2 separate regions of the Homo sapiens genome follow, and region 2 is linked to region 1. Evidence: promoter capture Hi-C in 16 types of primary human blood cells and fetal thymus (Javierre and others, 2016). All regions are on one chromosome and are shown on one strand. The core of a region is centred on a gene start or on the middle of the fragment in contact, and the rest is flanking DNA. Distances in the headings are between cores, read along the strand shown. Region 1 holds the start of NUDT5 (nudix hydrolase 5). Region 2 overlaps CAMK1D (calcium/calmodulin dependent protein kinase ID).

The links. The method cuts DNA at HindIII sites, captures the fragments that hold promoters and counts their contacts. A CHiCAGO score of 5 or more calls a contact.
Region 2: a contact is called between a fragment that was not itself captured here and the fragment with the promoter of NUDT5 in region 1, in 2 of 17 cell types (total B cells and naive B cells). The highest score is 7.0, in total B cells.

What each region holds. Positions count from the first base shown.
Region 1 is chr10:12,193,711-12,198,032 of GRCh38, forward strand. It overlaps NUDT5 (nudix hydrolase 5), which reads right to left and starts at 2,181. Exons shown (of 10, transcript NM_014142.4): 1 at 2,060-2,181. It overlaps CDC123 (cell division cycle 123), which reads left to right and starts at 2,478. Exons shown (of 13, transcript NM_006023.3): 1 at 2,478-2,609. The coding sequence starts at 2,536. RefSeq lists an enhancer at 2,225-2,494. The HindIII fragment of the contact is 3,617 bases long and covers 130-3,746 here.
Region 2 is chr10:12,653,477-12,657,798 of GRCh38, forward strand. All of the region lies in intron 2 of CAMK1D (calcium/calmodulin dependent protein kinase ID), which reads left to right. Among named protein-coding and RNA genes, the nearest start is that of MIR4481, 2.4 kb to the left of the region's middle. RefSeq lists an enhancer at 2,726-2,785 and a silencer at 3,114-3,408. The HindIII fragment of the contact is 2,466 bases long and covers 807-3,272 here.

The DNA.
Region 1 (4,322 bases), core at 931-3,430:
ATTGAACACACTTCTAAAGTATACTGCCTGAATAAAAGGTATCTATAAAAATTCCTTCCCTGTAGTATCTATATATTTAAGCTTACAAACTTAGCTGCTTTTCTACACACAACTGCAATTCTATATTAAAGCTTTGCAACTGCCTTAATCTCTACACTCTTTTTTTTTTTTTTCCCGAGACGGAAAAAAAAGAGTCTCGCTCTGTTGCCAGGCTGGAGTGCAGTGGCGCGATCTCGGCTCATCGCAACCTCCGCCTCCCGGATTCAAGCGATTCTCCTGCCTCAGCCTCCCGAGTAGCTGGGACTACAGGCATGCGCCAACACGCCCGGCTAATTTTTGATATTTTAGTAGGGACGGGGTTTCGCCATGTTGGACAGGCTGGTCAAACTCCTGACCTCAGGTGATGCGCCCGCCTCGGCCTCCCAGAGTGCTGGGATCACAGGCATGAGGCACCGCGCCCGGCCTATGCTCAAATGTTTCTTGGGCTGTTAAAGTACTGCTCCTCGCAGAAGGGCTATGTTCCCGGGATCTATTCTCTTCCGTACATTCATTCCTATCTTCATTAGAAAACATCTGACCTAAATAAATCCCCCATCGATGCTAACATCTCCTTCCGCGCAATTTTTTACTTTCTAAGTCAAATCAAAACAATTATTTGAGCGACTGCTCCTGTCTGCCATTAAGTCTTTCTGGCACCACCCTCCAGACATATATACAATATTGCTTCTTTCCCTCAAATCAGAAAGGACTGCATAGTTCCGGATCAAGGCATAAATGATGAATCATGACTGTCCATCCCCACCAACATACTCTGCAACATTATAATCTATTTACCTCTGCTTTGAAAATGTATTCTTTAAAGCACTGCTTCCAACTAGCCACTTAGCCAGTAACATTTTTGAGAAAAACAAAACACAACCCAAAACAATGTATATATTCCTGGGGGGAAGAGTTTCTAACTCAAAATACGCAGATAATTGTTTATTATTCTAAGGAACACCCTTCTGAAGAGGCCTGCAGTCGGTGGGGCTGTTTCTAATTTAAAACTACTTAGGTGAACCAGGAAGAATGTACATTTAAGGAGATACTTTTAGACGCAGATGCCTCGCGCAAGCCTAAAGCTCGTGTGGTAAGCGACACGACTAGGGGTTAAAAGCGGCTGGTTGGTAGGCCCGGGGCCGTGGCTCACGCCTTGTAAACCCAGCACTTTGGGAGGCTGAGGCGGGCAGATCACCTAAGGTTAGGAGTTCGAGACCAGCCTGGCAAATATGGTGAAACGCCGTCTCTACTAAAAACACAAAAATTAGCCGGCGTAGTGGCGCGCGCGCGCTCTCAGCTACTCGAGAAGCTAAGGCAGGAGAATCACTTAAACCCAGGAGGCGGAGGTTGCAGTGAGCCAAGATTGCGCCACTGCACTCCAATCTGGGCACAGAGTGAGACTCCGTCTCAAATAAATAAATAAAAGCAGCTAGTTACTTCTCATTCTTTTAACGAAACAAACAAAACTGAACTTTGCTGGGTGACAGGAGTGAAGCAAAGGAAAAAACGATAGTACAAGTTCGATTCGAATTCTTCCAGTCTTATGATTCGATCATCGCAGGAATACTGATAAAAATCTGCGTTTTTTCCAGGTTGACAACTTTTGCGAGGCCAGACTAAACGAATTCAGCGCTCCAAGGAGACTCCTCTTTCCTCTGCTTTCTCACATTTACCTCTCGCCTTTTACCTCCCAAAGTCGAACCCTCCAGGATCGTACAGGCGGTATTCCCTCTACCAAGCATTCTACTCCTCTGCAGATGCTGCAATCTTTACACTGGAACTAACACTTAGCTGTGGTGTTCCCCGCTTTCTTTACTCGGAGTAGCCCAGGCTCTTCCTCTCCAATCCACAATTTCCCTCCAATCCCCAGTTTCCCTCTTGGGCGCCTGGACGCGTGCCCAGCCGCAGCCTGGGAGACACCGCGCGGCTGCACGCACCATGCAGATGTGGTCCCTTTCCCCTTCTTCTTCTCCTCCCCAAAGAGGTTTTGTGCTGTGACTGGCTTGCCCCGGTTACTTACTCCAAGGTGTAGGGGTGAAGAACGGAAGAGGACGAAATAACTAGCTGGAGGCAGCAGTGTCAGCCGATGCCGGTGCCACGGCTCGAAACACCGGCGCCTCTCGCGGTGCTAAAAGGATGGGCGCGCACCCTCCTTCCGGCATCCGTAGAACCCCCGCCTTTGACCTAGCTTCAGGAGATTACTTTCCGGGTCAGCGTGCGTTTAGGGCGAAGACGGAGTTGTAAACTTCTTAAAATTCCTCTCTCGACACTTCGGTAATTCCTCTTTCGAGACTAAAGCTCTTTTTGTATGCGTGTGTGTCAAGCGTATGCCCCGGGATTCTCCTCCGCTTCCTTTTCTCGGTCTTCCTTCTTGCTTTAGGGACCGGAAGAGTCCTTGAACCAAAATAGCTCGGCGGGCACTTCCGGGGCCGGCGCCCAGAGTTCCGGGAGGGTGCAGGCAGGAGAGGGAAAGGCAGCAGCGGCGGCAGCTGGAGGATGAAGAAGGAGCATGTGCTTCACTGCCAGTTCTCCGCGTGGTACCCGTTCTTCCGAGGCGTTACCATCAAGAGGTGAGATGGGAGGGGGTTCGCCCGGTCGACCGGCAAAAGGGAACTGCGACTTCTGAGCGAATCTTACTGCTATCCAAAAAAATGCAGGCCTTCTAGCGACTGCATGGGAGGGAGTGTGTCGAGAGGGAAGTACATCAGCAATTGTCTGCGTCCTGTTGCGAGCCAGCGAGTGTGCTGGCTAGGAGGGTCAGTTGTGGTTTTCAGTGAGGGTCGGAGGCGGGAGGAATAGTGGATTAACCTAGTTTAGGCTTGGGAGTTCACCACCACTACTTTTAGAATGGCCCCAGGCGCAAGGTGATCACTGCCTAAGTGCACTCGGAGAATTAATTGCTTTTCGCCATCACCCCAGAGGATGGAGATTGGGAAGGTGAAAGGATACGTAATTACAGTTAGATACGAGAACAAGTTCACAGATATGTCGTACAGCATGGAGGCTATAGTTAATGACGATATACGTATTCTTGAAAAACGGAGAGTGGATGTTAGTGTTCTCACCACAAAAATAACTATGTTAGGCAATGCATTTGTTAGCTAAATTTATTCCACAGTGTATATATACTTAAAAACATCAGGTAGGCGGCAAGTATTAATATATACAATTTCATCTCTCAGTTTTTTTAAAGGCGTTGATAGAAAATCTGGGCTTTGCACTTAACTGATTTTCTGAGCCAACATTTCAGTAATTGCTGATTCATTATATGATGGTTTCATTCAATAAAGATCGGATATGTACTTGAAAATGTGTAACTGGCTTAGAATGGTTAAAATGTATAAGAAAAGTTTCAAGTTCTTAAATAGTATTGGAATGTGTGGTAGAACCTTAGATTCATTGTACTTAACAATTTCGCTTGTTAGCTTTGTAAGAGTAAAATACTTAGGAAGGCTTATTTGTAATCAGCAAATAGACATATTAAGAAAGAAAATTGAGTGGTTTATGAATAGAATTTAAAATTTTAAAGAGACTTTTAAGTTGCAAAGTTTCGCTTGAAATTGTTTAAAATTTAGTAGATTTTCAAACGTAATAAGATTTGTTAGAAGAAATTAAAAGCCTGAAGAACTAGATTTTTTTTTTTTGAGACAGAGTTTTGTTCTGTCGCCCAAGCTGGAGTGCAGTGGCAGCGATCTTGGCTCACTGCAAGCTTCCCTTCCCGAGTTCACGCCATTCTCCTGCCTCAGCTTCCTGAGTAGCTGGGACTACAGGCGCCCGCCACCACCCCCGGCTAATTTTTTGTATTTTTAGTAGAGGCGGGGTTTTCACCGTGTTAGCCAGGATGGTCTCGATTGCCTGACCTCGTGATCCGCCCGCCTCGGCCTCCCAAAGTGCTGGGATTACAGGTGTGAGCCACCGCGCCCGGCCAGAACTAGATTTTTGAATGTGAAATTGTACCTTTGATAAATCAAATATTTATTTTTAAAACCGAAGTTTTTGCTCTGTCGCCCAAGCTGGAGTGCAGTGGCAGTGATCTTTTATTTATTTAAAAATAAATAAAAATACTTATTTTTAAAACCGAAGTAGCCCATGAATACTCTTTTTTGTGCAAAAAAACCATTTGTAATGTGCCAAAAAAAACTTCTTCCATAAATAAATGAGACATGTTATAAGTCATTGATGTTCTGTTAACTTCGGGAAAGCAGGCTGTAATCTTTTCCACTTTTTGAAGATGTATATGCCTCAAAATCAAAATAATACCAGCACTCTTAGGGATCTGTGGT
Region 2 (4,322 bases), core at 790-3,289, 460 kb after region 1:
AGATGTTTTCTTCCATTGGAATGTGCCTGGTTATCTGAAGCCTGAGTGTGACCTGAGCCAACCATGTGACAACGTTAATTACTGATGTGCAAAAATTAAAGAACACTCAATTCTGCACCATCATCTCTGAATGTGGGCACTTTCCCAGAATGATGAGGAACATTATACAGTATGAGTTCAATCCCCCTAAGTCTGACAGTGAACTGAAATTAGATGGTTGTTCAAAACAGACTTCCCTCTCTGTTTTTCATCTTACTATTTTCATCTCATCTTTTTCTTTTACAATTGGCTTCCCACTTTCTAAATAAATGTTGCCATACCCCAGTAGCTTTAGTGCAATGCCTAGGATCATTTTGGCCTGTGTTCCTGATGCTTCATTATCTCGTTTGAATGAAAGAGCAGCACTGGGTCCTCCAATTTCAGTAGGTGCTATTCAGGGCACCTGTTGGCTTGACATGGTCATGGGTTTGAGTTGTGAAATATGGACCCTTCCATGTGGGTATCAGCACAGAGAAAGCACAGGACATTAGTGGTAGGAAAGAAAAAAGAAACAATACCTTTCCCCTAGATTCCAGTGCATTATTTTGTTTCCCTTCCACTTACTTATCCTCATATAAATGCAAGTGTTCAGAGCTAGAAACCTCAAAGATGCTTCCTGAATTCAAGCCCAGCGTCTTCAATCTGGGGCACAGAGTATGTGAAGGAAGCTGCAGGATACACCCCAGCAGTTCTGTGTCATTAACAGTATTTCATACAGGAATAGCTTCTAAATTCACCTTGTAAGCATCCACAGTGAATCTGAAACAAGCTTTCTGAGATTTCCCTTTCTAAGGTGATTTGGTGTATGTGGGTTCTCACATCAGTGAAGCTAGGAAATCCAAGCTACAAGAGTTAATCTCTGTTTCAAGGCGGGTAAACACCTTAATGTTTTCTGAGACTCCTGGTGCTAATTTTCATGTTTAAAATGCCCACAGAAATATATATTACCCTTTGACAAAAAGTTACCAAAAGATTCAAAGAAGGAAATGACAGTATTCCTTTAAATGTGTTAGTGTTTCAAAGTCTTGCTAAGAAATAGTAGAAGAAGTATTACTAATACTACTTGCTAAGAAATATTAGTTGCTAATACTATTATACTTGCTAAGAAATGTTATTTTTTTCATATTCTTATCCTGAGAGGAGTAATGGGTTGGCCATGTAGCCTTAAATCTTTATCCTTAGGACACCCTGGATCTTAACCTTTAAAAATCAGACTTATTATCAAATAAATGTATTCAGCCTAGATAAATTTAAAATGGGCACGGAAGCCACGAAGTTATCAGCTCTGAAGTATCTAAAGTTGAACCCTTTCCCATGACCTAAGATTCTCAGTAATTTAGTAATAAATGACTTACCAGTGGTTCTCAAACTTGGCTGCACGTTTGAATCACTGGAGAAACTATAAAGAACTTGTTACGCCTAGGCCACGCCGCAGGCCAATCAAATCATAATCTCCAAAAATGTTCCAGTTATTAGTACATTTGGAACTCCTCAGATAATTCTAGCACGTATCTGAGCTTGAGACCCATTGGATTAGGCCGTTCCTGCATTGCTATACAGAAATACCTGAGCCTGGGTAATTTATAGGAAAAGAGGTTTAATTGGCTCACAGTTCTGCAGGCTGTACAGGAAGCATAGTGCTGGCATCTGCTCGGCTTTTAGGGAGACCTCAGGAAACTTACACTCATGATGGAAGGCAAAGGGGGAGCAGGCATGTCACATGGTGAAAGCAGGATCGAGAGAGAGTGGGAGGGGGAGGTGCCACACAAGAAGCCACTGTCGCAAAGACAGCACCAAGCCATGAGGGATCCACCCCCATGACTTGAACACTGCCCTCTAGACCCCATGTTCAAGCATTGAGGATTGAAATTCAAGATGAGATTTGGGCAAGAAAAACTATCCAAACTGTATCACCCATTCACTGGTAACTTCTCATGGATGGTAACAGAAATAGGAAAGAAATACACAGTCAAATCTTAGAACCTTTTTTCATTCTGGTGTGTAGCTTTGGAATGTCTGGAGTCTGTAAGACTTTTGGAAGGTGAGAATTAATTGTTCATTCATTCATTCATTCTTCCATAAACATTCCTTGAGTGTTGATATGTGCTGGATTTTTCACACTGGATTTTTCACACTGAACTGGACCTAACTTATTTCTCCTTTGGTCGAAAGACCGCCAGGCCTCAGCTGGACCTCTAGAGCCATTCTAGACAAGAGCAAATCACTTGGGCGTTTCTGTATTAGTCCAGGCATTGTGGATGCTGATGTGGGAGAAGGAAAAGTGGGTCTTTTCTGTGTAAACAACTTCATGTCTCAAGAAAATTCTGTTCTGTGTCCAGCTGACAAACTTGTCTGTGCAGATAAAGAACCTATTGATGCACAAGTTGTCACCAGGCTTCTGTGTAGCAAAGACTATTCCAGAGAACACTGAATATGGACTTAGAGTCAAAGTTGATGGTTCTCATAGATACCTTAATGCACTTTGCCTCATTATAAGTTTAGATTCATTGATTGTTAGAGTTGGAAGAGACCTTGGGGACTTTCTGGTCTGGCTGGTTGATTTCTAGACAAGGAAACCGAGACCCAGGAAGGGGATGTGACCAGAATGTGGTCATAGTGTCAGAGACAGAACCAGCTCGTTGATGCCCCTCCTGTGGGACCATTACAGGCTCTAGCACTGCATCCCTACACATATGAGTGCTAGCTATGCCCCCACAGTGGGTACCCTGCATTGTACTAAGGAGGCCTGGGGTGCTATTAAGAAAATACCTTCAGGACCAGCCTGGGTAACATGGTGAAATCCCATCTCTACAAAAATATGCCAAAATTAGCTGGGTGTGGTGGCACATGCCTGTGGTCCTAGCTACTTGGGAGACTGAGGTGGGAGGATCACTTGAGCCTGGGAGGCAGAGGTTGCAGTGAACCGAAACCACACCACTGCGCTCCAGCCTGGGTGACGGAGTGAGAGACCCTGTTTCAAAAAAAAGAGAAAAGAAAAAAACCGCCATTTGTGCACAAGGGTTTTTATTGTCATTTGTTTGTTTGTTTATAAGGATTCAAGGAAAAACTCATTTCACAATCAGTATCAACATGTAGTACTTAATCTTTAAAAAACAACAACAAAACTAGCTTACAGACTTAAGAGCTTAGTTGATTTAGGTATCATAGTCTTGGCTCCTTAGTTGCCCATTGAGTATAGCTCCATCTTCTGGCAGCAAAGAGAGGTGATTTGAAGCTTAGGATTTTGAATTCTGCTCATTTCTTGAAGTGGCCTATGGTCTACAACACAAGATCTCTAACTATACAGTAATATGTTACATGTGTGTGTGTATATACATTTTTTTTACATAAACACATATATATACACGTGGATAGATAAATAACAAGATGACATATTTTGATGTTCATTTAACAAATGAGAAATCAAATCAGAAAGTATTTAACGACTTGTTCAAAGTCTTGCAGTTAGATGTATCAGAGCTAAGACGCAAGCTAATCTCTTGATTGCTTGTGCAATTCCACTAATCAGTATGCATTTCTTTTTGTGTGCACTTTTATGGATATATTTTGGTAAACTTGGTGAACTTGGTTAATGATTTTCATCAAGAACTTTTTAAAAGCACCTTTCTGGCCAGGCACGGTGGCTCATGCCTGTAATCCCAGCACTTTGGGAGGCCGAGGCAGGCTGATCACGAGGTCAAGAGATCGAGACCATCCTGGCCAACATGGTGAAACCCCGTCTCTACTAAAAATACAAAAATTAGCTGAGTGTGGTGGCGCATGCCTGTAGTTCCAGCTACTCGGGAGGCTGAGGCAGGAGAATCGCTTGAACCTAGGAGGCTGAGGTTGCATTGAGCTGAGATTGTGCCACTGCACTCCAGCCTAGTGATGGAGAGAGACTCTGTCTCATAAAAATAAATAAATAAATAAATAAATAAATAAAAACACCTTTCTGTAAAAGTTGGGCAATACAACAGTTTAGCAACTTGACTGTTCTTGGGTTCAGTGAGAGAATGAAGCGCTAATGCTTAAGACATTTATTGTCTACACTAAATTAACTTTCTCCTTTGCAGCTAGAATGGTGCTGTCTTGGAGGACTGAGAAAGTAGTCACTTGAATCATTTTCTGTGTTCTGTGGTTCAGATGAAGAGCCCCAGTTGAGGAAAAACTGGAAAGTGAGAATCTTCTACTCTAGTACTTTCTGAAGTGTTTACTCACTGGTTTGATATGTATCCCTCTAGATGTTTTACTCTGCCTGTAAGATCATTTAAATATACACACAC